4 separate regions of the Homo sapiens genome follow, and all the other regions are linked to region 1. Evidence: promoter capture Hi-C in human tissues and cell types (Jung and others, 2019). All regions are on one chromosome and are shown on one strand. The core of a region is centred on a gene start or on the middle of the fragment in contact, and the rest is flanking DNA. Distances in the headings are between cores, read along the strand shown. Region 1 overlaps ZNF221 (zinc finger protein 221). Region 2 holds the start of ETHE1 (ETHE1 persulfide dioxygenase). Region 3 holds the start of CADM4 (cell adhesion molecule 4). Region 4 holds the start of PLAUR (plasminogen activator, urokinase receptor).

Evidence for each region. The method cuts DNA at HindIII sites, captures the fragments that hold promoters and counts their contacts. A contact is called where the count stands out against the background at its distance.
Region 2: the fragment with the promoter of ETHE1 here is called in contact with a fragment that was not itself captured in region 1 in 1 of the 25 tissues and cell types used here (spleen).
Region 3: the fragment with the promoter of CADM4 here is called in contact with a fragment that was not itself captured in region 1 in 5 of the 25 tissues and cell types used here (H1 embryonic stem cells, IMR-90 fibroblasts, aorta and 2 more).
Region 4: the fragment with the promoter of PLAUR here is called in contact with a fragment that was not itself captured in region 1 in 2 of the 25 tissues and cell types used here (IMR-90 fibroblasts and dorsolateral prefrontal cortex).

What each region holds. Positions count from the first base shown.
Region 1 is chr19:43,957,412-43,963,808 of GRCh38, forward strand. ZNF221 (zinc finger protein 221) reads left to right here. Exons shown (of 5, transcript NM_001297588.2): 2 at 5,314-5,396. The coding sequence starts at 5,316. Among named protein-coding and RNA genes, the nearest start is that of ZNF221, 9.4 kb to the left of the region's middle. The HindIII fragment of the contact is 7,430 bases long and covers 398-6,397 here.
Region 2 is chr19:43,525,951-43,532,347 of GRCh38, forward strand. It overlaps ETHE1 (ETHE1 persulfide dioxygenase), which reads right to left and starts at 1,251. Exons shown (of 7, transcript NM_014297.5): 1 at 1,147-1,251; 2 at 565-709; 3 at 251-399. The coding sequence starts at 1,227. It also overlaps a transcript of ZNF575 not described here. RefSeq lists enhancers at 1-402, 403-907, 423-602 and silencers at 1,213-1,402, 5,205-5,376. The HindIII fragment of the contact is 5,540 bases long and covers 1-5,210 here.
Region 3 is chr19:43,637,473-43,643,869 of GRCh38, forward strand. It overlaps CADM4 (cell adhesion molecule 4), which reads right to left and starts at 2,378. Exons shown (of 9, transcript NM_145296.2): 1 at 2,255-2,378. The coding sequence starts at 2,318. RefSeq lists a silencer at 2,262-2,401. The HindIII fragment of the contact is 16,381 bases long and covers 1-6,397 here.
Region 4 is chr19:43,668,406-43,674,802 of GRCh38, forward strand. It overlaps PLAUR (plasminogen activator, urokinase receptor), which reads right to left and starts at 1,764. Exons shown (of 7, transcript NM_002659.4): 1 at 1,661-1,764. The coding sequence starts at 1,715. LOC124904724 (a long non-coding RNA gene) reads left to right here and starts at 359. Exons shown (of 3, transcript XR_007067264.1): 1 at 359-778; 2 at 1,621-2,075. RefSeq lists silencers at 263-492, 533-612 and an enhancer at 1,533-1,832. The HindIII fragment of the contact is 20,050 bases long and covers 1-6,397 here.

The DNA.
Region 1 (6,397 bases), core at 2,863-5,362:
ATCTACCCACCTTGGCCTCTCAAAGTGCTGGTATTACAGGCATGAGCCACCATAACCCGCCTGGAGAAACCTTTATACCTAACTTAAAGTATGTAAGAAAGCAGCTTTAGGCTAAACTTAATTTAACATAATGATCTAAAGATTTTCACCCTGTTGGAATGAGTCCCATGACTCTCTCTCTTTCTTCTTAGTTTCACCTTTATCATTGTTTTTTAAATGACCTTTAAAAAATTTCTAGCTTTCTGGGATGAGTCGTTTGACTCTGCCCTCTGCCTTTTTCCTCTTGCTAATTAACCTAATGTTTTTATTAACATCTTTAATATCTTTAAAGGGAAGCTGAGACAGCAAATCTGATAAGGCTTCTAGGACTGTTGTTCAGTTTTGCAAGAGTTAAGATGTCAACTAATAAATAAAATCAATACTGAGCCACAAACAAAAGAAAAGATGTTTTAAGTGGGGTCTTGTGAATTGCAATCAAGAAGTACAGATCTAGCAGTCAGCTAAATCATTTCCTGTTCTATCCAGGCAAGGTTGGGCAGGGGCTTATAAATGTTTACTGTAAGTTTACATATCTGGAAGGTATTAGTACAGTCCATGATTGATGTCAGTTGGTTAGCAACTTAGGATGTCTTTGGTTGATGATCAATCTAGTTCAGCATAGCTGTTTCCCCAAGAGTTTCGCAATCAGGCCATGTATAAACAATTCCAATCAAATGCAGCTGGTTTTACAATTTGGCCCAGTTAAACAGGTTAAAATCCATCTGGATGTGTACATAACTGAGGTCCAACTCCACATGCCTCTTTTTAGAAACTTCTGACATAACCATCTCCATTTTGAGTTTTCTTTTTACAAAAGTCACGTGGGGTATCCATGCGAAAGGGGCCCCCTTAGCCACAGCATTTACCATGACCTGGGTAAGAAGCATATTCAGCAGATGAATATCCCAGTCATCATAAATTCAGTCCCACGTGGCTTGCATGCGGTATATCAGCTGCATCATCTGGGGTATCCCACCGAGCATTTATAGGGTGAGTTGAGCAGTCCGCTTTTTCAGGGCAAGCAGACATTACCATGTCTTTTATCCAGTTGATCAGGCTGGCTGTTCCCTTGGGAACAATCTGTTAACATTGATAGTGAGATTCAGGCAATATGGTTAAATATTGAGTTTATTCAAACACAAAATTTTAAGATGTCCACCTGGGAGGACACGGACTTCAAAAGATTGGATAAGTGCTCTGAAGTGGAAAGGTTTGAGAGTCATTATGTAGGCAGGGTCTAGGAAGCTTAACAGGATGTCAGCATTTTCTATACAAGATTAATGCATAGTTATAGCAATTCGATAGCAGTGTTTCCTTTTATTGGGAAGAACGTATTTAACATTCTGCATTAGAGATGTAATAGTCAAAGGGGTCTTTTATCTCAGACAAAGAATCTTTTATCTTAGATGCTATCTGGTCTGAGCCAGGAACAAGAAAACAAAGAAGGAAGTTAAGAGGTCAAGCTCAGTGACTCAGTTTCCTTCGGGCCTAACAACTTTTAGAAGCCCAAAATAGATAAGACTATTGGGTTTTTGGTTGTTTTTTTTTTTTCACATCTCCTGTGTGTCTGCATCAGGTGTTTACCGTCTGTAATTGTTGCATCATGTATCACCATCTGTAATTGTTTCATAGTGAACTGTGGGTCCTACATAAACCCAAATATGCTCTTCAATGCAACATTTAAAACCAAAGATGCTGCTACTTAGTTTCTCTCACAATCCAGTTGAGTAAAGATTCCTTAAGAAGCTACAAAATAAACAATTCCTTCACACTGTACACTGTAGTTTCAGTTTCTTGGTTTTACCCTTCCCATACACTGATTGCCTTTTGGTAACCACAGGTCTTAGAGGTACTTACTGTTGTCCTGGTATATTTTTTCCCTTAGGGACAGCTTTGAGGCAAGTGGCTAAAGCTTAGATTCACTAAAATTCGAACTTGGTCAAGCATCAGAGTCCAACCCAGTCCTTTTAATTACATTTGATATAGTTTGGATGTTTGGTCCCTCCATATCTCCAGTGTTGGAGGTGGGGCCTAGTGGGAGGTGTTGGATCCTGGGGGTGGGTCCGTCATAAATGGCTTAGTGCTATCCCCTTGGTGATTAGTGAGTTCCTGCTCAGTTAGTTCATGTGAGATCTGGTTGTTTAAAAGAATTTGGGTCCTCCAATTTCTCTCTCTTGTTCCTGCTCTCACTTTGTGACATGCCTGCTCCTACTTCACCTTCTCCCATGAGTGAAAGCTCCCTGAGGCCTCACCAGAAGCTGAGCACATGCCAGCACCACATTTCCTTTACAGTCTGAATAAATGTAAGCCAGTGAAACCTCTTTTCTTTATAAATTACCCAGCCTCAGGTATTTTGTTACAGTGACACAGAAATGAACTAATACAGAAAATTGGTACTGAGGTGCAATGCATTGCTATAAAGATGCCTGAAAATGTGAAAGTGGCTCTGGAACTGGCTAATGGGCAGAGGTTGGAAAAAGTTTGGAGGGCTCAGAAGAAGATAAGAAGATGAGGGAAAACTTGGAACTTTTTTTTTTTTAACTTTTTCACTGAGCCATGGGAACTTCTTACAGACTGATTAAATAGCTGTGACCAAAATGCTGGTGGGAATATGGACAATGAAGTCCAGGCTGATGAGATCTCAGATGGAAATGAGGAAGTTATTGGGAACTGGAGTAAAGGTCACCCATGTTATGTCCTAGCAAAGAACTTTGCTGCTTTGTGTTCATGCCCTAGGGATTTCTGGAAGCTTGAACTTAAGAGTGATAACTTAGGGTACCTGGCAAAAGAAATTTCTGAGCAGCAAAGCATTCAAGAAGTGGCCTGGCTGCCTCACTGCTTCAAACAGCCTACAATTATATATGGGAGCAAAAAAATGACTTAAAGTTGGAATTTATATTTAAAAGGTAAGCAGAGTATAAAAGTTTGGAAAATTTGCAGCCTGGCCATTTAGTAGAGAAAGAAAAAGCATTTTTAGGAGAGGAATACATGTCGGCTGTGGAGCAACCACTCGCAAAAGAGATTTGCATGACTAACAGAAAGCCAAGTGGTAATATCTGAGACAATGGGAAAAAGACCTGGAAGACATTTCAGAAGTCTTCAGGAAAGTCCCTCCCATCACAGGCCTAGGGGCCTAGGAGAAAAGAATGGTTCCAAGGGCCAGGCCCAGGGACCCCCTGCCCTGAGCAGCCTCAAGACATTGTGCCCTGAATCCGGCCACTCTGGCTCCAGCCTCAGCTTAGAGTGCCCCAGGCGCAGGCTGGGTTGCAGCTCCAGAGGGTTCAAGCCTTGATAGTTGTGGTAGTTTCCACATTGTGTTAAGGCTGCAGATGCTCAGAATGCAAGCATGAAGGAGGCTTGGCAGCTTCTACCTAGATTTCAAAGGATGTATGAGAAAGCCTGGGATCCCAGTCAGAAGCCTGCCACAGTGGGGGAGCCCCAACAGAGAACCTCTACCAGGGCAGTGCCAAGGAGAAATGTGAGGGCTCCCCACAGAGTCCCCACTAGGGCACTACCTAATGGATCTGTGGTAAGGGGACCACTGCCCTCTGAGAAGTGGTCCTGAGACCACTGCTCAGTCATATCACTTGGCTGCCCAAGGCCTTGGGAGTCTATCTCTTATACCAGGATGTGGGACATGGAGTCAAGGATTATGTTGGAGCTTTAAGAGCCCTGGCTGGAGTACAGTAGCACAATCCTAACTTGCTGCAGCCTTTAACTCCTAGACTCAAGCTATCCTCCTGCCTCAGCCTCCCAAGTAGCTGGGATTACAGGCTCAAGCCACAGCACCTGCCTCTTCATATGCTCTTTACCCAAATTTTCCAATTATTTACATTTTGTATTTTGCTTTGTTAACACCCATCAGCCAAATACCACTGGGAACAAACTTATAATGAGAAACAACTTATTGTAGCTTTCTGCATCAAGGAACCCCACATAGCAAGGTGATCATGGAGTGTCTTGGTAAGAGGCATTTAGGAAGGGCTGGCTATAGAGTTTCATATAAGATGCTAGGTAGTATTAGATATAATATTAAGTAATATCACTATTAAATACTAGATATCAATTAAAAGACTATTAATATTAGTTAATTCTGTTACCTATTAGATATGGCTAGACACCATCATCTTTTCTATCCAAACTCCCATATTTAAATTTGTTGTGCTTTTTAAAGTTCTTGTAACTGTTTTCCCCCATCCCCCAGTCCAAAGTCCAATTTTATGTACTGCTTTTAGGTGTCACATTTCTGTAGTCTTCTTTAATCTAGAAAGATTCAACAGGCTTTGTCTTTTTATTCTTGACATCCTTGAAGTATATAGGCAAAGTATTTTATAGAAAGATAGTCATTTGGGATTTATGTATTTCATGTTTAGGTTCAGATTATGCATTGTTGGTGTGGATACCACAGAAGTGTTGAAGTGTCATAACAGGGGCCAAATGATGTCTGTTTTTCCCTTCATTGGAGATCTCAACTTTGTTCACTTGGCCAAGATGATATCTTTCAGATTTTTCCACTGAAAGGTTACTTTTTAATTAAATTTTGAAAATAAAAACGTTTCTTACGGGAGATACATTATTAGTGGGCATTATCCTGTAAAGATTAGCTTCCACTTCTCCCTGATTTATTAATCAGTTTCTTCAACTATAAATATTCTATCAATATGGACCCACAATCCAGTTAAATAACATGTAGATTAACTGTTATTATTTCCAACTTTATTGAGGTGTATTTTACATGTCATAGAATTTACCCATTTCAGTCGTACGATTTAATAATCTTCAGGAACTTTGAACAGTGGTGTGACCGTCATCATAATTCAGTTTAGATCATTTTCGCCCCCCAATTGGACTCCTTGTGCTTATGTACAGTTAAACCTCATTCTCACCTCAAATCTGGAGCAACCACTAACCTACTTTCTCTATATATACATTTGCTTATTCTGGATATTTTATAAAATTGAATTTTACAATCCATGGGGTTTTTAGACTGGCTTCTTTAACTTAGCATAATGTTTCCAAGGTTCATACATGTTGTAGCATGAGCCAGTTCTTCACTCCTTTGAATTTCCAAATAAAATTCTGTTGTATGGATATGCCATGATTTGTCTATTCATTTACCCGTAGGAGGGCATTTTGCTTGTTTGCAGTTTGGGGTTATGAGTAATGCTGCTATGAACATTCATGTGCTAATTGAAAATACTTGTCTATGTTGGTGGTCGGCATTCCTAGTTACCATTTCCTGTCTGTTTTTCTGCCTTTCCTGGCACTTTCCAGGCATGATTTCACCTTCACTTGAACTGCTTCATTCAGGACTCTGCAAATTCCCTGAAGTAGAAGGAAAAATGACCACATTCAAAGTGAGTAGGGCTTGCCTCTCTTGCTGTTAAAATTCCATCTTACTACTCATATTGTCACATTTTTATCTGTCTTGGGAAGACTCAAGGAGAACAACAAGCATTTGAGGGCATTTTGTTTGCCAGATGCTTCCTTTGCTGCTTTTGAATTGACTTTCCGTTTGGTTTTAGTTCTTGTTTTCTTACATAATTTCTTTTCTGTAGTAGATAAAATAGTAGGAATGGATAATTCTTTCACTTCACTACTTCTCTGCTCACAAATTAGCTGTTTTTATCTTGTATTCTTCATCATGTACATTCATAACTGTATTTTTATTGATGACATACCTCTAATTTTAAATTGTGCTCGTTTTATATAATATTATATAATGTTCCATTTTTATATTGGTATCATAGTCCCAATGAATTAATGTACCTTCTTATTTTTAACTACTTCACACTCATAGACATTTAGGTGGTTTAGGAATTTTACTGTTTTAAGCAACACTGCTGTGACAGCTTTCCTATATATAACCCCTTCCCCCCAAAATTAATTCTGAAAACAAGATAGGATACTTTTGACATGTATTACATTGGCTGTTTTATAGATGGTAGATTATTTCAACAGGGCACAGCACATGAGGCTCTGACTGCTACTTCCCACAAATATTGTTGTTGGAGTTTTCACACAGGAAGAGCTAGATTCTGTGTTTGCCATGCCTTACTCATACCTTGTATGCATGTTATTTATTGGTCTCTTCTTATTCCTTTATGGAGTAAGCAGTTTTACCAAAGTAGTAGGTACCTTCATTTGAAATGTCCAGTGATACTGGAAGATTGGCCAATCACTTGTGTTGTGTTACTATATTTACTCAGAGAAGCAGAATGCAGGTTTTAGTCTCATCTTCCTCTTAAACTCATAAAATATGAGAAATCTGCTCAGATTCACATAGGCAACCAAGGTCAGGAATGTTAGCCATTCTGCTCATTTATAATCAAATAAGTGAGAATGATATTAATACAAT
Region 2 (6,397 bases), core at 1-2,500, 430 kb before region 1:
AAGGAAACTCCTTAAATGCTGTTGACTTAGGAGTTCCGCCAGTGCCCCACCTGCCCAGAGCCTCTTGCCCCAGTGCCCCACCTGGGTTTATGGTGCCCCCCTCCCAGAAATATGAGCTCAGGGGTCAGAAACCCAGGTCCTGAGGTCCCTCCTCCCCAAGGACTCAGGATCCCAGGCCCCCAGTCCCCTCTTCCCTTAAGTTTAAGAAGTCCAGGCCACCACCCTCTTGGGGACCCAGCACCCAACTCACGAAGCGCCCGAAGCGGATGGAGTCTCCATCCTCAATGTGTAAGTCAGCCTGGGCCCCACTAAGGCGGGAGATGACAGACTGGCAGCCAGGGAGGAGGGAACGGAGCAGCCCCGAGCCTGTAATGTGGTCCGCGTGGCAGTGGGTATTCACTGGGAGAGAGAGGAGGGACAGGTCCGGAGGGTACAGAAAGGACCTGGGAGTCCCAGCCCAGATCCTTCTCCCTCAGACTCAGGAGTTCTGGGCCCCAGCTTCCCATTCCACTGACGCTGCAGCCCAGCCCCGCTGGGATCCATGAGTTTGGTCCCCGGACTGACCAGCATAGAGCAGCCGCAGCCCCAGCTCCTTGATCAGCTGGGCATCCCGAGGCGCTGTTTCCAGGACTGGGTCGATCAGAACGGCCTCCCGGGACTCTCTGTCACCCAGCAGGTACGTGAAGGTGCAGCTCACAGGCTCGAACATCTGGGAACGGGGGACCCAGGTGAGGGCGCAGAACCGGACTTCCACCCACTGGAGGCCAAGTAGTCCAGACTGACCCTATCCTCTTCCTAAGATCCAGAAGCAGAAACCCCAGCCCACTCTTTCCCCGGGAGTCGGGAGTCCGGAGCCCCACTACCTTCCCCTATCAGAACAAAAGAGTTCCAACTTCCTAACATCCCAAAATCAGGGTCCCCAGCACGTTCTTTCATAGAGGACCCAGGGGTCTGGCCCCAAGCCCAGAGGCCCCCAGACCACTCACCTTTAAAGGACCCAAGAGTCCAGCCCTAAACCTCCACCCCGCTTTCCGCAAGATGCAGGCGTGGGTCCCCCCGGATCTCTCCCTATTAAGAGACCCCGGAGTTCCGTCCTTGCTGCCGCCTAGTGCCCAGCAGTCCCCTCCTAGGTCCAGCCACCCGCACCTGCCGCAGGAGGATGGGGGCTCCAGACCCGCCGCGCTGGCTCAGCTGCCGCCGGGCGACCCTCAGTACAGCCTCCGCCATCGCGCCCACTGCGGGGTCAGGAATGAGCGGAGGCCGAGCGCCTGCAGGAGCCGGGCGCTACGGCACTGACCCCGGGAAGGGCGGGGCGGGGGCGGAGCACGCCTTAAAGGGGCCACGGACGCCTGGGGCAGAGGGCGGGGGACCGCCGAGCGGGACTGGGGCGAGGGCGAGACCGAGGAAAGCCAGAGTGCAATGCCTGGACGCTTTGAGACCCAGAAAAAACAGAGAACAGGGAGACACTCAAAGTGCGAGGGACAGACGCTCAGAGACACACAGACATACTCATGTAGGAACAGAGATAGGGAGAGAAGTAGAAACCCAGGGAGAGGCCCCAGTACACTCATAGCCTCGGGGCCGTTTTTTTTCCTTTTTCTTTTGTTTTATTTTGAGACAGAGTCTCGCTCTGTCACGCAGGCTTGAGTGCAGTGACTCGATCTCAGCTTACTACAGCCTTAAACTCCCGGGTTCAAGCGATCCTCCAACCTCAGCCTCCCGAGTAGCTGGGACTATGGCACGTTGCCACCACACCCGACATTTTATATATATATATTTATATCTATATATATATTTATATACATATATATATATACACACACACACACACATACATGTATATAAAATTTGTTTTTTGCAGAGACGGAGTTCTCACTATGTTGCCCAGGCTGATCTCGAACTCCTGAGCTCAAGCGTTCCTCCCACCTTGTCCTCCCAAAGTGCTGGGATTACAGACGTGAGCCACCGCGTCCCGTGGGGCCGTTTTCTAGCAGGTGGTAGGATAGTCATGGTTAGAAAAAGATGTTCGGTTCCGGGAGGCAGAGGTTGCAGTGAGTAGAGATGACGCCACTGCACTCCAGCCTGGGCGACAGAGGGAGACTCTGTCTCAAAAAAAAAAGATATTCGTTCGGTTCCAGGTCATTAATATCTTGAGGGACTTTTGAGTGGGTGCCTGGTTACCAGAACAACACTTGATCCCATTAAAGTTCATCCAGAAATTGCATAAGCATTTTATCAGGAATGTTTCTCTCTTTCCAGGAAGAAATCTTAAAAAAAAAAAAAAAGATAATTTTGCATTATCTCTTGAATAATCAGATTGGGGATTATTCATCTTCTGTTGGGGTGTGAACCTCTGAAAAGAGCTTGTGTTCATTTACACCAAGGACCTGGGGCTGAAAAACTGTAGTCTCAAGTCATGAGCTGTCAGAAAGTCTGCTCTTTGTAATCGTAGCAGTAGTGAGAATAGGACATCCCACTCTCATCTGGAGGATCTATGTCACTTTGTGACATCAGAGCAGCCTTGATTTCCAGCCTAGGGGCAGAGCTTTTTTTTTTTTTTTTAATTGTTAGAATTTTTTTTGTAGAAACAGGGGTCTTGCTATGTTGCCTAGGCTGGTCTCCAGCTCCTGGCCTCAAATGGTCCTCCCACCTGGGCCTCCCAAAATGCTGGGATTACAGGTATGAACCACTGAGTTATCCTGTCCCACAGCTTCTGAGGAGGGGTTTCCTGCAACAACATTTATCTTAATTCTGGAGTTTCCAGGGAATGGTCCCTGGAGCTATTTTCAGAGCAGCCCCTGTGTGAATGCCTTTACACAGAGAAGGCCTGCTTTTCCTTAAGCCTATCAAATTGCTTCATTAAAATTTTATGTGGCCGGCTGGGCGCGGTGGCTCATGCCTGTAATCCCAGCACTTTGGGAGGCTGAGGCGGGCGGATCACGAGGTCAGGAGTTCAAGACCAGCCTGACCAACATGGTGAAACACCATCTCTACTAAAAATATAAAAATTAGCTGGGTGTGGTGGTGCACACCTGTTATCCCAGCTACTCAGGAGGCTGAGGCAGGAGAATTGCCTGAACTCGGGAGGTGGAGGTTGCAGTGAGCTGAGATCGTGCCACTGCATTCCAGCCTGGGTGATGGAGACTCCATCTCAAAAAAAAAAAAAAAAAAAAAAAAAAAGCATATGGCTGAGCTCATGCACAGGCACTTTGAGCACTTTGGGAGGCCTAGGTGGGCAGATCACTTGAGGTCAAGAGTTTGAGACAGCCTGGCCAACATGGTAAAACCCCATCTCTACTGAAAAAAATAAAATAAAATACAAAAAAATTATCTGGGCGTGGTGGGGCACGCCTGTAGACCCAGCTACTTGGGAAGCTGAGGCATGAGAATCATTTGAACCCAAGAGGCAGAGGTTGCAGAGTTTGCAGTGATCCAAGATTGCACCTCTGCAACATAGCAAAACCCTGTCTGGGCAACAGAGCGAGAGTGTCTAAAAAAAAAAGGCCAGGTGCGGTGGCTCACGCCTGTAATCCCAGCACTTTGGGAGGCCAAGGCGGGTGGATCACGAGGTCAGGAGATTGAGACCATCCTGGCTAACACGGTGAAACCCCGTCTCTACTCAAAAAAAATACAAAAAATTAGCCGGGCATGGTGGCGGATGCCTGTAGTCCCAGCTACTCTCGAGGCTGAGGCAGAAGAATGGCGTGAACCCGGGAGGCGGAGCTTGCAGTGAGCCGGGATCGTGCCACTGCACTCCAGCCTGGACGACAGAGCGAGACTCCGTCTCAAAAAAAAAAAAAATTCCAGGCATGAGGTCTCATGCATGCCTGACTCAAGCTAGACAAAGCTGAGGACCCAGAGGTGACTCAGTCTGGCTGGTAGGCGAGAGAGGTAGGGAAAGCAGGTCTGAGACACAGGGAGGTGTAGGGATTTGGGGAACTCAGGGGAGGGAGGAGCCAGGGAAAGGAAGACCCTCAGGCACTCCTTACTGAGAGGGTCCCCCAAATAAGAACTTCTCGCCCCTGGCACCCTTTCCCGTTGTTTTTGCAGAATTTCTAGACCATTTATGTGTCCTTTGAAGACACACCCTAGGCAGGGTTTATAGGCTCAGCTGTGAGATGTTCTAAGAGTTAGACTTGGCTTCACCCTTCTCAGGTGTAGGACCTTGGGCTGAAAACTTATCTTCTTCTGGGTTCCAGTTTTCTTATCTACAAAATGAGGTTGAAAATAGTTCAATAGCCTGACATAGCACAGGCTCTCAATGGGAACTGCCCATCATTATTTTGTCACTATCCTTGACTCCTTCCTACCCTTGCCACCTCCACCCACTTCCAGGCCCTGCTGAGTTAAACTCTCTCTCTTTTTTTTTTTTTTTTTTTTTGAGATGGAGTCTTGCTCTGTTGCCCAGGCTAGAGTGCGGTGGTGCAATCTCAGCTCACTGCAACCTCCGCCTCCTGGGTTCCAGAGATTCTTCTGCCCCAGCCTCCCAAGTAGCTGGGATTACAGGTGCACACCACCACACCCAGCTAATTTTTGTAGTTTTAGTAAAGATGGGGTTTCACCATGTTGGCCAGGCTGGTCTGGAACTCCTGACCCCAAGTAATCCACCTGCCTCAGCCTCCCAAAGTGCTGGGATTACAGGGCCGAGCCACCGTGCCCAGCCAGATTTAACCTATCTTAACCAGGCCACTTTTCTGTTATCACACCCTCTGCCCCATTCAAGGGGCAGCAAAGCATAAATGCAAATTGCCTGGACTGCAGGGCCAGGCTGAGGGATTCAAATCCTGGCTCTGATACTTCCTGGCTGGGATGACCTTCCCCTCCACACTTCATTTTCCTCCTCTGTACAAGGATGATAGTAGCACCTCCTCTTAAAACATTGCTATGGGGATTAAATAAATTAATGCACATAAGGACAGTTTCCAGTGTATAATAAGTGCTAGCAATTAATACTGTAATTAATATATAACAATACCCTCACTGGTCTTCTGGCTTCTACTCTGCCTTCTTAAAATCATGGTTCTTGAAAATAGCTGTGGCCCTAGAGGTTGGGCGCGGTGGCTCACACCTGAAATCCCAGCACCATGGGAGGCCGAAGTGGGCGGATCACCTGAGGTCAGGAGTTTGAGACCAGCCTGGCCAACATGGTGAAACTCCATCTTTACCAAAAATACAAAAAAAAAAAAAAAAATTAGCCAGGCGTGGTGACGGGCACCTGTAATCCCAGCTACTCAGGACGTTGAAGCAGGAGAATCACTTGAACCTGGGAGGTGGAGGTTACAGTGGGCTGATATCTCGCCACTGCACACCAGCTTGGGTGACAGAGCAAGACTCCGTGCAAAAAAAGAAAGAGGTGGGCACAGTGGCTCACCCCTGTAATCCCAGCACTTTGGGAGGCCAAGACGGGTGGATCACGAGGTCAGGAGATCGAGACCAGCCTGGCCAACATGGTGAAACCCTGTCTCTACTAAAAATACAAAAATTAGCTGGGTGTTGTGGTGAACACCTGTAATCCCAGCTACTTGGGAGGCTGAAGCAGGAGAATCGCTTGAACTCGGGAGGCAGAGGTTGCAGTGAGCCAAGATTGCGCCACTGCACTCCAGCCTGGGGGACACAGCGAGATTCCATCTCAAAAAAAAGAGAGAGAGAGAGACCGAAGTGTCACTTCAAACTAATACAATGTGTGGAGCTCATTTAGATCTTAAGTCAAGCAAATCAAGTGTAATAAAAAGATATTTATGAGATATGATGTTTGACATTTAGCTTCAGAATCATTTGGGAAGAGTGGATGGGGGGTAAATCAAACAATACTGGTCATGAGTGAATAATTATTTTAAAAACTTTTTTTTTAAAGATACGGGGTATCACTCTGTTGCGCAGGCTGGAATGCAGTAACACAATCATAGCTCATTGCAGACATGAACTCCTGGGTGAGTCCCCACTCCCTACCCCCGTGAAATAGCTGGGACTACAGGCTGCCATTAAGCCAGACTTTTTTTTTTTTTTTTTTTTTTTTTTTAAGATGGGGAGGTGTCTCACTATGTTGCCTAGGCTGGGATTTTTGTTTGTTTGGGTTTTTGGTTTTTTTGTTTTTTTGAGACGGAGTCTCACTCTGTTGCCCAGGCTGGAGTGCAGTGGCTTGATCTTGGCTCACTGCAACCTCTGCCTCCCAGGTTCAAGCCATCCTCCCACCTCAGCCTCCGGAGTAGCTGAGATTACAAGCGTGTGCCACCATGCCTGACTAATTTTTGTATTTTTAGTAGAGACGGGTTTTCACCATGTTGGCCAGGCTGGTCTCGAACTCCTGACGTCAGGTGATCCGTCCACCTCCGCCTCCCAAAGTGCTGGGATTACAGGCGTGAGCCACCGTGCCTAGCCCCCGTCTAGTTTGGAAATC
Region 3 (6,397 bases), core at 1,128-3,627, 320 kb before region 1:
GGGTCCTGGGTAAGGCTTGGACCCAAGTTCCTTAGCTCCCAGCTGAGAGCTCTTCCCATGACACCAAGCTCAGTTTCTACTGGTAAAAGCCACATACTATTTACTTTAGAGAAAGTTTACAGAGAGGGTTAGGGTGCCAGGAAGCAGTGACTTGGAAATCAAACGAGGGACAGGGCTGTAGACCTAACTCCCAGAAGCACCAGAGAAAGGCTTTTGCACGGGGCGGGTGGTCACCTTAAGCTATATTCTGATCCTGAGAATTCAAAGTCTGATGATTCTAAGCTGTCAGGATTCTAAATGTCATAGATGTCAAGATCCAGGAACTCCAAGACATCAAGATTTCACGATTTTTAAGACGTCAAGATGCTAGCATGCTAACACCATCACGGTTCTAGAACTTTAAAGGTGTCAAGATTCTAAAGCCTTCTGGATTCTAGAATCCTGTAGATGTCAGCATTCTAAAGTACCATCAGGTTCTTTATTTACTGGATTCATTAGTTCCAGGATTCTATGAGCCTGGTGTTTAGCCTAAAAAATAAAGATAAATTAAAATTGATGGAAATGTCACTGAGGTACCAAAGTTCTCATCTGGGAAATTGTGGCATGTCTGTTGTAAAGAAAGGAGGTAATGATGCAAGTTCTAAAGCAGTCACAGAAGACTAGAGAAGAAAGAAAGACAGTGAGAGGACAGCTTTGCCCCTCATCCTGGCCGAGGTGAGGATGGCTCTGCCTCAAACCCTGGAGTGGGGAACATGTAACCGCACTCAACTTGCCAGAAACCCCTTCACGGTCTGAGCTGGCGTTCCCTTTCATGTCACTGAGTTCAACATCCTCACTTTACAGAAAGAGAAACAGAAGCCTGGAGAGAGGAAGGTGTTTACCATTGGCTGCGATGGCAAATGGCAAGAGCCAAGATTTAAGCCCAGGCCGCCAGCCCCATGCCACCTGGTTATAACTCCTCTCACCAATCTCTGCCGAACACCCAGCCCTCCTGCTTCTGCCTAGCCACCTTCCAATCCTCTGTTCCTTCCAAAAGTGGCCTTATCCACCAGGGAGGGGTGACCCGTGGCAGGTTCAAGACTTACACAGTGTGAGAGTGTGTGTGGGTGACATTTCCTGACCTTGTCCCCATTCTCAGGGTCACCCAACCTCGGGGGTCTCCAGCTTCTCACAGTGTGTGATGAGGGTATGTGGATGGCTCCCTGGATGTCCTGGACAGGGGCTTCTCTGTGAGTCAAGCCTGGGTGTGTGAATGGGTGAGCAGGGTTTGGAGAGGCATTCGCTGAATCCACGTGTGTGCCTACACGCCAAGGTCCCCCATTCTCACTTCCCCACACACATGCACACAGATGTTCCCCTCCAGGGCTCTTTAGAATGCCCTGCCTGACTGAATTCCTCTTCAGGGGCACAGAGGGATAGAGAGAGGGAGGAAGGTAGGATGGGAATGGGAGATCCCGGGATGGAGGCTGTAAGCGTAGAGAGAGGAGGCACAGCAGAAAGACAGGGATGGAGATAGTGGGACAGAGAAGGGGGAAAGAGACAGGTGACAGAAAGGGTTAGAGAAACGAGTGACAGAAAGACAGGGGACAGAGACAAGGGGATGGGGCAGATAGGGGACAGAGAAAAAGGGACAGAAAAACAAGGGTGACAGCGAGACAGAGACAGGGACCAAGAATAGGGGCAGAGAGGGAGGGCAGAAATCCGGGGGAAAGAGAATAGACAGGATGATGGAGGGGACAGAGTGACCCAGGAAAAGGGGACAGAGACCAGGGGACAGAGGTAGGGGACAAAGACAGAATAGATGAGGAACACCGAGGCAAGAAGAGAGGGAGACAGACAGAAGGAGGGACAGGACTTCGAGACTGAGGGATAGAGGACAAGGGTAGGGGGACGAGGAGCCAGACGGGGGGGTTCAGAGACGGGCGGACAGAGGGACGCAGAGACTGGACAGAAGGACAGCGGGACCGGCCTGGGGAGGGCGGACTTGTGTGTGTAGGGGGGTCTCGGGCCCTTTGTCCCCGCCGGGATCCAGCCTGCGCGGGTGGGGGGGCTGCGGCACGGCGGCCGGGCCCCGCGCCCCCTCCCCCGCTCGTCGCTCCCGGCTCCCGGCCCGCGCTGCGCTTTGTCCCGGGGAGGGGGCCCGGCCCGGCCCCGCGCGCATTGTTCGGCCTCTGCGGCCCCGAGGCTGCCGGGCTGTCACCACAGCGCGCCCCCCGCCCCAGCCCGGCCGGCCGACCCCGGCCCCCGACCCTACCTGGCCCCGCCGCGGCCGCCCACAGCAGCAGCAGCGGCCACTGGAAGCGCCGGGCCCGGCCCATGGTGCCGCCGCCGCCGCCGCCGCCGCTCGCTCCCGGCCCGGCACCTGCACCGCCCGCGCCGCCCGCCCCGCCCCCCGCGCCCCGCCCCCTGCCCGCCCGGGGGCGGGGCGCCGAGGCCGGGGCGGGGCCGGGGAGGGGAGGGGGAGACGGAGGAGAGGCCCGGAGACAATCGGGGGGACGGCACGGTGGGGGAACGGTGCGGGGTGCGAAAGCTGGAGAGGAGAGGGGTGAGGAGGGCGGGAAGGGGTGCGCGGGAGGGCGACAGCGGCGTGGGAGCAGGTGGGGGATCTCGGTGAGCGCGGGAAATGGAGGGTGTTGGGTGAGGGTGCTGCGTGCGGGCCCAGGTGCTGCGCGCGAGGGTGCGGAGTTGCTGGCATGCAGGGTGCTTGCGCTGCGCGGAGGGGAGGGTGGCAGGGTGTTGCTGGAGGCTGTGCGAGGGTGGGGGCGCGGGCGTCGTGGGGTGCGGTGTGTGCGAAGGGAGAGCGTGGCCAGCGTGACGGGGGAGCGTAAGGGAGGGAGTGCGACGTGGGAAAGGTGAGTGTGAGAGGCGTGCTGCGGGCAGGTGGGTGTCTGGAGTCTAGCGAGAGGCTGTGAGCTGAGCCACCGGGACAGGGGAGGCTGCAGCTGGAGGTCCGGAGGGTCCGGAGGTCGAGGCAGGTCAAGGATCTCCCAGGGCAGGGCGAGGCTGGGGCTCAGGAGTGGGGTGGGGTCAGTTCCCTCCCTCCCTCTCTCCTGTCCTGACCTGAAAACCCCGTGTTTCCGCGTCATTCTCCGGGAGGGGCCCCCTGAAAGTGAACTAACTGGAAGGAAGCCTGAATCCTGGGTCCCAGGAGGGAGAGGCTCCTGTGAACACCTTCCAAGCCCTGGCGTCCCCTCTCCTCCCTGCTGTCTCCCTGCCCCAGCCTCTCTCCCTCTCTCTGCATGTATTTGCCTCTGCCCTTCCTCTCTCCCCATCTTTGAGGGTGACTCACCCCTCCAGACTTAGGTCCCTTCTCCCTCCTGGGAGTGGGTTTCCCTGAGCCCACTTCTGTGACACCCTGTAGACCTGATGCGGGATCATTACCTATGGGACCCAGAAAGAGTGAGAAACCATGGAAAGAAGGCCTCGACCTCTCTCATGCCCATTTGTCAGGCAAACTGAGGTCCAGAAGTGCCAATTATGAACATCTTTCCTTCCCCCCTCCCCCCTCCCCGCCCAGACGGAGTCTCGCTCTGTTGCCCAGGCTGGAGTGCAGTGGCACGATCTCGACTCACTGCAACCTCTGCCTCCCAGGTTCCAGTGATTCTCCTGCCTCAGCCTCCCGAGTAGCTGAGATTACAGGCGCCCGCCACCATGCCTAGCTAATTTTTATATTTTTAGTAGAGACGGAGTTTTGCCATGCTGGCCAGGCTGGTCTTGAACTCCTTACCTCAGGTGATCCATCTGTCTGGCCTCCCAAAGTGCTGGATTACAGGCGTGAGCCACCATGCCTGGCTGAAAATCCTTACTTTTTATTCCGACTAAAAAATTTTACATCCAGTCCCACAAGGGACTTCAGCTTCACACACCCTTTCTGTCCTCAGTACCCAGCTCCCAGTATCCTTTCTGACCTCAAAACCATAGCTACCATCAACCCTTGTGTCCCAGGACCATGGCTCCCAGTGTCTTCTCTGTCCTCAGGGTCCAAGCTCCCATCAACTCCTGTGTCCTCAGGACCACGGCTCCCAGCATCCTCTCTGTCCTTCAGGTCCAAGCTCCCATCAACCCCTGTGAAGCAGGACCATGGCTCCCAGCATCCTCTCTGTCCTCAGGGTCCAAGCTCCTATCAACTCCTGTGTCCCCAGGACGATGGCTCCAGCAATCCTCTCTGTCCTGAGAGCCCAAGCTTCTAACTGCCCCTGTGTCCCCAGATCCATAGCCCTGAGCAACTTCCTTCTTTTTCAGTCCTCAGCTTCCCAGCTTCTGTAGACTTGGGAAGAGATAGTCTCTAATCCTCTTTCCAGGGCTCACATTCTGTGACTTTTGCTAGATGGGAGAGGAATGTTTGATCTGCCTTTGGAATACTGGTCCAAGGGGTAACTAGTAGTTGCCTTTTCCCGCAGGAGCCAATAGGCCCGCTCACTCTGTGCTCTGACAGATGTCTCCTGCTCCAGCTGAAGGGGAACCTTGGGAGATGTTGGTTTGGTTCTCACCTGTCATCCTTAAGTCCCACCATTCCATGTGAAGACATCACAAGAGTAGTGGTCCTGACGGGCGCGTTGGCTCACACCTGTAATCCCAGCACTTTGGGAGGCCAAGGTGGGCCGATCACTTGAGGTCAGGAGTTTGAGACCAGCCTGACCAACCGGCCAACATGGTGAAACACCATCTTTACCAAAAAAAAAAAAAAAAATTAGCAAGGCGTGGTGGCACGTGCCTGTAATCCCAGCTGGTCGGAAGGCTGAGGCATGAGAATCCCCTGAACTTGGGAGGCAGAGGTTGCAGTGAGCTAAGATCATGCCACTGCACTCCAGCCTGGGTGACAGAATGAGACTCAGTCTAAATAATAATAATAATAATAATAATAATAATAATAATAATAATAAATAGAATAGTGGTCCTGTCCCCATCCTACTTCAGGGTACCCTGTCCATTAGGGATTTAGTGCAAGTGACAGCAAGTGCAACCCAACTGGTTTGAGAGAAAGAGAACTGGTTCACACATAACAAAAAGTCCTTCTATGGCTGGCTTTGGCGAGGTCTGTCAATCTCTGTCCTAAGGATGCATGGCTCCCCTCCTGTAGCAAGATGGCTGGCAGATACCCCTGGGGCCAGATTCATATTTGGGGTGATTAAGATTCTGCAAGAGAGAGACAACCTTTATTTCACACAGCTTTTCAATTGTTGCCTGTCCCTGGTGAGACTCGGAGACCTAGCTCTTGCCTGGTTTCTAAACTTTCAATAACACCGTTTTTGCTTAAGTCAGCACAAACAGATTTTATTTCTTGCAAGCAAAGATTCCTGAACAACAACTTCAGAGCCGTTAACAATGAGGTCCTGATCACAAGCTATGGTATAGGACGTGAGAAATTTGTCCCTAGCCTCAATATCTGCTGGAGGGCATCATGGAATAAGTATTTCTATCCTCTGATCCCCACTGTAGGGCATCATGGGATATATAATCCTAACCTTCAATCTCTGCCATAGAGTTTCATAGGCAATGCAGTCCTAGCCTCAATATGTTGTAGGGAATTATGGGAAAGGTGAAATTATCCTCAATTATAATACAGAGCATCTCAGAAAATGTCGTTTTAGCCTCATCTCTGCTGTAGGGCATCATGGGAGATATACTTCTGGCCCAATTTTTGTTGTAAGTTGCCATAGAAGATGCAGTCTTTCCTTCCTTCCCTTTTTTCTTTTCTTTCTTTCTTTCTTTTTTTTTTTTTTTATTATGTAGAGACAGGGTCTCTCGCTATGTTGCCCAGGCTGGTCCTGAACTCCTGGGCTCAAGCAGTTCTCCTGCCTTGGCCTCCCAAAGTGCTGGGATTACAGGCAAGAGCCATTGCACCCAGTCCCTTCTCTCCTTTCTTTCTTCATCACCTGCCATATTCCAGGCACTAGGAATAAATCATCAAGTAAATAAACGGCCTTACCCTCCCTGGCAATTATAATGGGGAAAGTTAGCTAAAAACAAACAAAAATTACTGTTCCATTTAACCATCGCTGAATAACAAAATACCCCAGAACGTAGTGGTGTGAAACAACAACCTTTTAATTTTATGATTCTGTGAGTCAGGAATTGGAGCAGGATTGGTGTGTATCTGCTTCATGATGAACTGGAGCCAAAAATGAACTAGCTGGAACAGCTGGAGATGGAGGGGAGGGGCATCAAGGGCCATATATCTAAGGCTGGTGGTTGGTGTTGTGGGTTTTGAATAGTGTCCTCCAAGTAAAATATATGTTGAAGTTCTAGCCCCTGGTATCTGTACATGTGACCTTATTTGGAAATAAAATCTTTGCAAATGTAATTCACTTTTTTGTTTGTTTGTTTGTTTGCTCGAGACTGAGTCTCGCTCTGTCACCCAGGCTGGAGTGCAGTGGCATGATCTCGGCTCACTGTA
Region 4 (6,397 bases), core at 514-3,013, 290 kb before region 1:
GCTCCTCCCCGATGCCATAACCCCGCCCCTAGCTCCTCCTCGAGGCTTTAGTCCCTCCCTCTAGCTCCTCCTTGAGATTCTAACTTCGCCCTTTAGCTCTCCCCGCCCCTAGTTTTCCCCTGAGGTCATAACTCCGCCCCAGTCCCTTCTTGAGGTTTCAGCCCCACCCTGTAGCTCCTCCCCGAGGTCGTAACCCCCGCCCCTTGGCCCCTTGAGGTCCTAGCCCAGCCCCGTAGCTCCTCCCCAAGCTTATAACCCCGCCCCTAGCCCCTCCTTGAGGTTCCAGCCCCGCCCTCTAGCTCCTCCCCGAGGTTATAATCCTGCCCCTCAAGAGTCTAGTCCCACCTTCTAGCTCCTCCCGAGGTTATAACTCCGCCCTCTGGTTACGCCTCGAGGTTATAACCCCGCCCTCTGGCTCCGCCTCGAGGTTCTAGCCCCGCTCCTAGCTCTTCCTCGGTCTGTAACCTCTCCCGTAGCTCTTCCTTGAGGTTCCAGCCCCGCCCTCTGGCTCCTCCCCGACACTCTCTCCCCGCCCCAGGCTCCGCCCCGAGATTGCAGCCCAGTCCCTAGGCCCGGTCCCCGACCTCCGGGCCTTCCCGGACATCCCTTTCCAGCTGCGCGTTCGGAGTATCCCGGAGCTGTTACTCATTCCCGGCCTCCCGCGGTCTCGAGCGCTTTCCGGGTTATTCATCGCGGCCCCAACACCCTGTGGCCACCCGCCCTGACTCAGTTCCTTCTCGAATTCCTCGACCCAGAGCCCCCCACATTTTCCGGGGAAGTAAGTGAGAGTCGCCTCAGTGAGAGGGAAAGGTCCTGAGGGACAGTCCCGGGTCTCCAGCACTGGCTCTGCGCCGCTCAGTCAGCCTCCCTTTGGGCCTTTTGTAAAAGGGGGTCCTGTCCCCCCGTTTCTCAGAGGGGGAGACCCAGCAGCGTGGAGAGCGCTGGGGGGCGCTGCAGGGTCAGATCCTGCGTATTCAAGCACTGGCTGTGTGATTTTAGGCCAGTTATCTAACCTCTCTGTGCCCTAGTTTCCTCTGCGAAACGAAATTAATAAAGTCCCATCGCCTAGTTTGAAATTGCAAGGAAGAGGCTTCGAAGAACTCCATTTAAAAAAAGAACACTTGGGCCGGGCGCGGTGGCTCACGCCTGTAATCCCAGCAGTTTGGGAGGCCGAGGCAGGTGGATCATCTGAGGTCAGGAGATTGAGACCATCCTGGCTAACAGAGTGAAACCCGGTCTCCACTAAAAATACAGAAATTAGCCGGGCGCGATGGCAGGCGCCTGTAATCCCAGCTACCCAGGAGGCTGAGGCAGGAGAATCGCTTGAACCCGGGCGGCAGAGGTTGCAGTGAGCCGAGATCGCGCCACTGCACTCCAGCCTGGGCGACAGAGTGAGACTCTGTCAAAAAAAAAAAAAAAAAAAAAAAAGCACTCACTAAATTATGTAAAGCTAAATGCCTTTGCTCCACTAATATTTCCTTAGCTACTGAGTGCCAGGTACTGCGCCGCGTGGCGTTGCACAAAGCACGAGAATTACTATTATTTGATTAGGGAGGATGCTGAGGACTGAACCGCATTCCTCCAACTCATCCTCTGACAACCCCCAACCCCCTCAATTAGACCCTGTTCCAGGCGCAGGCGTTCGGGACCCAGCCCCTACCTGGGACGCAGGTGTGGAGCAGCAGCAGCAGCGGCAGCAGCGGCGGGTGACCCATGTCGCGAGGGCAGCTCCTGTGCGCGGGGTCCCTGCACGTCTTCTCTCCTTCTGGCCTCAGGAAGGAGGCAGTTTTGTGGCCCCAGGGACTCCTCCCAGACGTTTTGCGAAAGAGCGAGTCAGCCCCAGATGCGTGGGCGCCTCCCCCTCCTCCCGTACGAACCTCCTCCGCCACAAACTTCCCTTCCCGGGGCGCGGCCGGCTGGTGGTGAAGGGGCTGGCTCGGCCCTGACTCATGGAGTTGTGATCACAGCTCTGTCCCCAGATTGCCTGGGTGCAAATCCCAGTTCTCTCTCTTCCTAACGTGGGACCCGGGGCAATCGCTCTCCACTGCTGTAAAATGAGGATAAAAACTTTGACGGTAAATATGAATGTGGCTGATTATTTGGCTAACAGGATTTTTGTTAGTTTTGTCAGGAGGGATACTGGTATTTTGGAAAATGTCCTTATCTAGAGATGCATCCTGAAATATGCATCTCTTAAACACTTAAAACACTTAACCCTTGCTTTGCTTCCCGCTGTGCCCCCAGCTCCTGGACCAGTGCCCAGCACGAAGTAGGTCCTTGGTAAATGTTAAAGGAATGTGTTGAGCCCTCCATTTTGGCCAGCAGCTATTCCAGGCATTGCACCTACATTAAAACACTTAATGGTGAAACCCCGTCTCTACTAAAAATACAAAAATTAGCCGGGCGTAGTGGCGTGTGTGTGTTACTTAGGAGGCTGAGGCAGGAGAATCGCTTGAACCCGGGAGGCGGAGGTTGGGTTGCAGTGAGCCGAGATCGTGCCACTGCACTCCAGCCTGGCAACAGAACAAGACTCCTTCTCACAGAAAAAAAAAAAAAAAAAAAAAAAGACACTTCAGCCAAAAAAGTAGATATCACTGTTACGACAATGGCTGTATGCTTAGGTGGGATTCTGGTTTTTGTTTGTTTGTTTGTTTTTGCAGATGCTTACTAGAGTATTTAGTGGTGAATGTTATTGATGTCTGCATTTTTTGTTGTTGTTGTTTTGGGGATTTTTGTTTTGTTTTTTCTTTTTCTTTTGTTTTCATTTTGATGTCTGTATTTATTTTATAATATTTTAGAAGAGGTCAGATGAGGTGGCTCATGCCTGTAACACCAATGCTTTGGGAAGCCAAGGCAGGAGGATCACTTGGGGCCAGGAGTTCAAGATCAGCTTGGGAAACATAAAGAGCCCTCATCTTTCCAAAAGAAATTAAAAATAAAATAAAATTAGCTGGGTGCAGTGGCCCGTACTTGTAGTCCTAGGTAGTTGGGAGGCTAAGGTGGGAGGACCGCTTGAACCTGGGAACTGGAAGCTGCAGTGAGCTATGATTGCACCACTGCACTCCAACCTGGGCAACAGAGCGAGACCCTGTCTCAAAAAAATAATAAATAAATAAATACTTGAGTAGAAAATAAAGGCAAAATAGCCAAATGGTTGTATCAATTATATAAAGGTAATCAGTATATAAGGGCATATTATGCCATTCTGTCTCCTTTTCTGTGGGTTTGAAAAGGCTTATAATAAGTTTTTTCTTTCTTTTTATTATTTATTTATTTATTTATTGAGACGAAGTCTCACTCTGTCACCCAGGCTAGAGTGCAGTGGTGCAATCTCGGCCACTGCAATCTCCGCCTCCTGGGTTCATGCAATTCTCCTGCCTCAGCCTCCTGAGTAACTGGGATTACAGGGGCACGCCAGCACACCCGGCTAATTTTTGTATTTTTAGTAGAGATGGGGTTTCACCATGTTGGTCAGGGTGGTCTCGAACTCCTGACCTCAGGTGATCCACCTGCCTTGTCCTTCCAAAGTGCTGGGATTACAGGCATGAGCCACTGCACCTGGCCAAGTTTTTTTTTTTTTTAAGTAAAATAAAATACTAAAGATAAAATTGTCTCCCCGTCTTAGGATGCATCTAACTAAACAGAGCAATTTAATGTAGGTGCAATGCCTGGAATAGCTGCTGGCCGAAATGGAGGGCTCAACACATTCCTTTAACATCTACCAAGGACCTACTTTGTGCTGGGCACTGGTCCAGGAGCTAGGGGCACAGCAGGACGCAAAGCAAAGTTCCCACCTTTTGTTGTGTTGACAGTGGGGAGCAGATATGTGTTATCTAATCTTTCACTGTCTGAGAGGGATAAGCAAACTGGAGAAAACAAAGCAGGCTGAAGGAAGTATCTGGGTGCAAATGAGGTGTGAGCTGTTTTAGGTGGGTGATCCAGGAGGGGTTCCCTGAGCAAGTGGCATTCAAGCAGAGGCTGAATGCAGTGAGGGAAGAAGTAGGGCAGATGGGCAGGGAACCTTTCCAAGGAGCAGGAACAACCAGTGCAAAGGCCTTGAGGTGGAAGCCTGATGAGATTCTAGGAACAGAAGAGATGTCAGTGTGGCTGGAACAGATTAGGAGAGGAAGAGAGTCGTAGGGGATGAGTAAGTGGTAGCTACTTCTACTGCTGTAATAATGATTATACTATGTGATTTGTTGTCGTTGTTGTTGTTGTTTTTGAGACAGAGTCTCACTTTGTCTCCCAGGCTGGATGCAATGGCGTGGTCTCGGCTCACTGCAACTTCCACCTCCCAGGTTCAAGGGATTCTCATGCATGCCTGGCTATTTTTTTTTTTTTTTTGAGTCGGAGTTTCTTTCTTGTTACCCAGGCTGGAGTGCAATGGCACGGTCTCGGCTCACTGCAACTTCTGCCTCCCAGGTTCAAGAGGTTCTCCTGCCTCAGCCTCCTGAGTAGCTGAGATTACAGGCATTCTCCACCATGCCTGGCGAATTTTTTGCATTTTTAGTAGAGATGGGGTTTCACCATGCTGGCCAGACTGGTCTTGAACTCCTGACTTCAGGTGATCCACCCGCCTCAGCCTCCCAAAATGCTGGGATTACAGGCTTGAACCACTGCGCCCAGCCCTAATTTTTGTATTCTTAGTAGAGATGGGGTTTCGCCATGTCGGCTAGGCTGGTCTCGAACTCCTGACTTCAGATGATCAACCTGCCTCAGCCTCCCAAAGTGCTGGGATTACAGGGGTGAGCCACCGCACCCGGCCCTAATTTTTGTATTGTTAGTAGAGATGGGGTTTCACCATGTCTGCCAGGCTGGTCTCTAACTCCTGACTACAGGTGATCCACCCACCTTGGCCTCCCAAATTGCTGAAATTACAGACATGAGCTACCGCTTCCAGCCTGTACTATGTGATTCTTACTAACTCATTGAAGCTGTAAGCTAATGATTTTAAGATAAGGTTAGAAAACAAAAAACAAAAAAACTCCCAATGGTGAGCACAGTGGTTCATGCCTATAATCTCAGCACTTTGGGAGGCGAAGGCTGGAGGATTGCTTGAGCTCAGGGGTTCGAGACCACCCTGGGCAACATAGTAAGACCTTGTATCTATAAAAAAATAAAATTACAGCCTGGACAACATAGCGAGACCTTGTCTCTATGAAAAATAGAAAAATTAGCCAGGTGTCGTGGTGCACACTTGTGGTCTCAGCTACTCTCTGGTTGAGGTGGGAGGATCACTTGAGCCCCAGGGGTTTGAGGCTGCAGTGAGCCAAAATCGAGCTACTGAACTCGAGCCTGGGCAACAAAAGTGAGACTGAAAAAAAAAAAAAAAAGAACTCCCAGAGAATTTCCTAAGAGGTAGTATAGCCCAATGGTTAAGAGTGTGGGAGCTGGTCTCAGATTGTGAAAATCTAAATTGCATCTACATATTGGCTGTGTCACCTCTAGCAGGTTACTTAATCTATCTCTGTGCCCAAGCCCCTTATCTGGAAAGTAGAGATAGCAAGTATCACCCTCCCAGGGCTGGTGTACTGCGGAGGTAAAAGAATCCACCTAAAATGACTGAGCATGGTGGCTCATGTCTATAATACCAGTGCTTTGGGAGACCAAGGCAGGTGGATCACTTGAGGTCAGGAGTTCAAGACCAGCCTGGCCACCATGGCAAAACCCTGTCTCTACTAAAAAATACAAAAAAATTAGCTAGGTGTGGTGGCATGCACCTGTAGTCCCAGCTACGCAGGAGGCTGAGGCACGAGAATTGCTTGAACCTGGGAGGCAGAGATTGCAGTGAGCCGAGATCGCACCACTCCACTCCAGCCTGTGCGACAGAGCTAGACTCCATCTAAAACAAACAAACAAACAAACAAAAAGAAGAATGCTCCTAAGATGCTTGCCACAGTGCCTGGTACATAGTATGTGCTCAATAAAAGCGATAGCTGCCAGTATTATCATTGTTGCAACTCTGGACATTCACCTCTTCCTGGAGTAGGAAGGGAGATGGAGGCCTGTCATTGAGTCTGACGTCAACAGTTATCACGCGTCAGCTGCTGAAGTGGGCACTTCCCTGGCTGGGTCACCCTGGGCCAATGACATTCTTCTTTCTGAGCCTCAGTTTTCTCAGCTGGAGAAGGGGATCCCTCTTGGGCTGGTGTGAAAACTAAACTAGATCGGAATGTACATGAGGTGGGGAAATAGACAGTTGGGGTGTTGGTCCAAGCAGGCTTGAGACCCAGCTCAGCCACTTGCTTCTGGGTGACCCTGGGCAGATGGCTTCACTCCATCAATCCCCGGCTTTGCCACCTATGAAATGGGTCTGGGGTGGGTAGGGGGCATCTCTCAGTGAAGAGAAAACTCAGGTTTGAGGGTCATGCGGAGCTGTGTGCTGTGCTGCTACCAC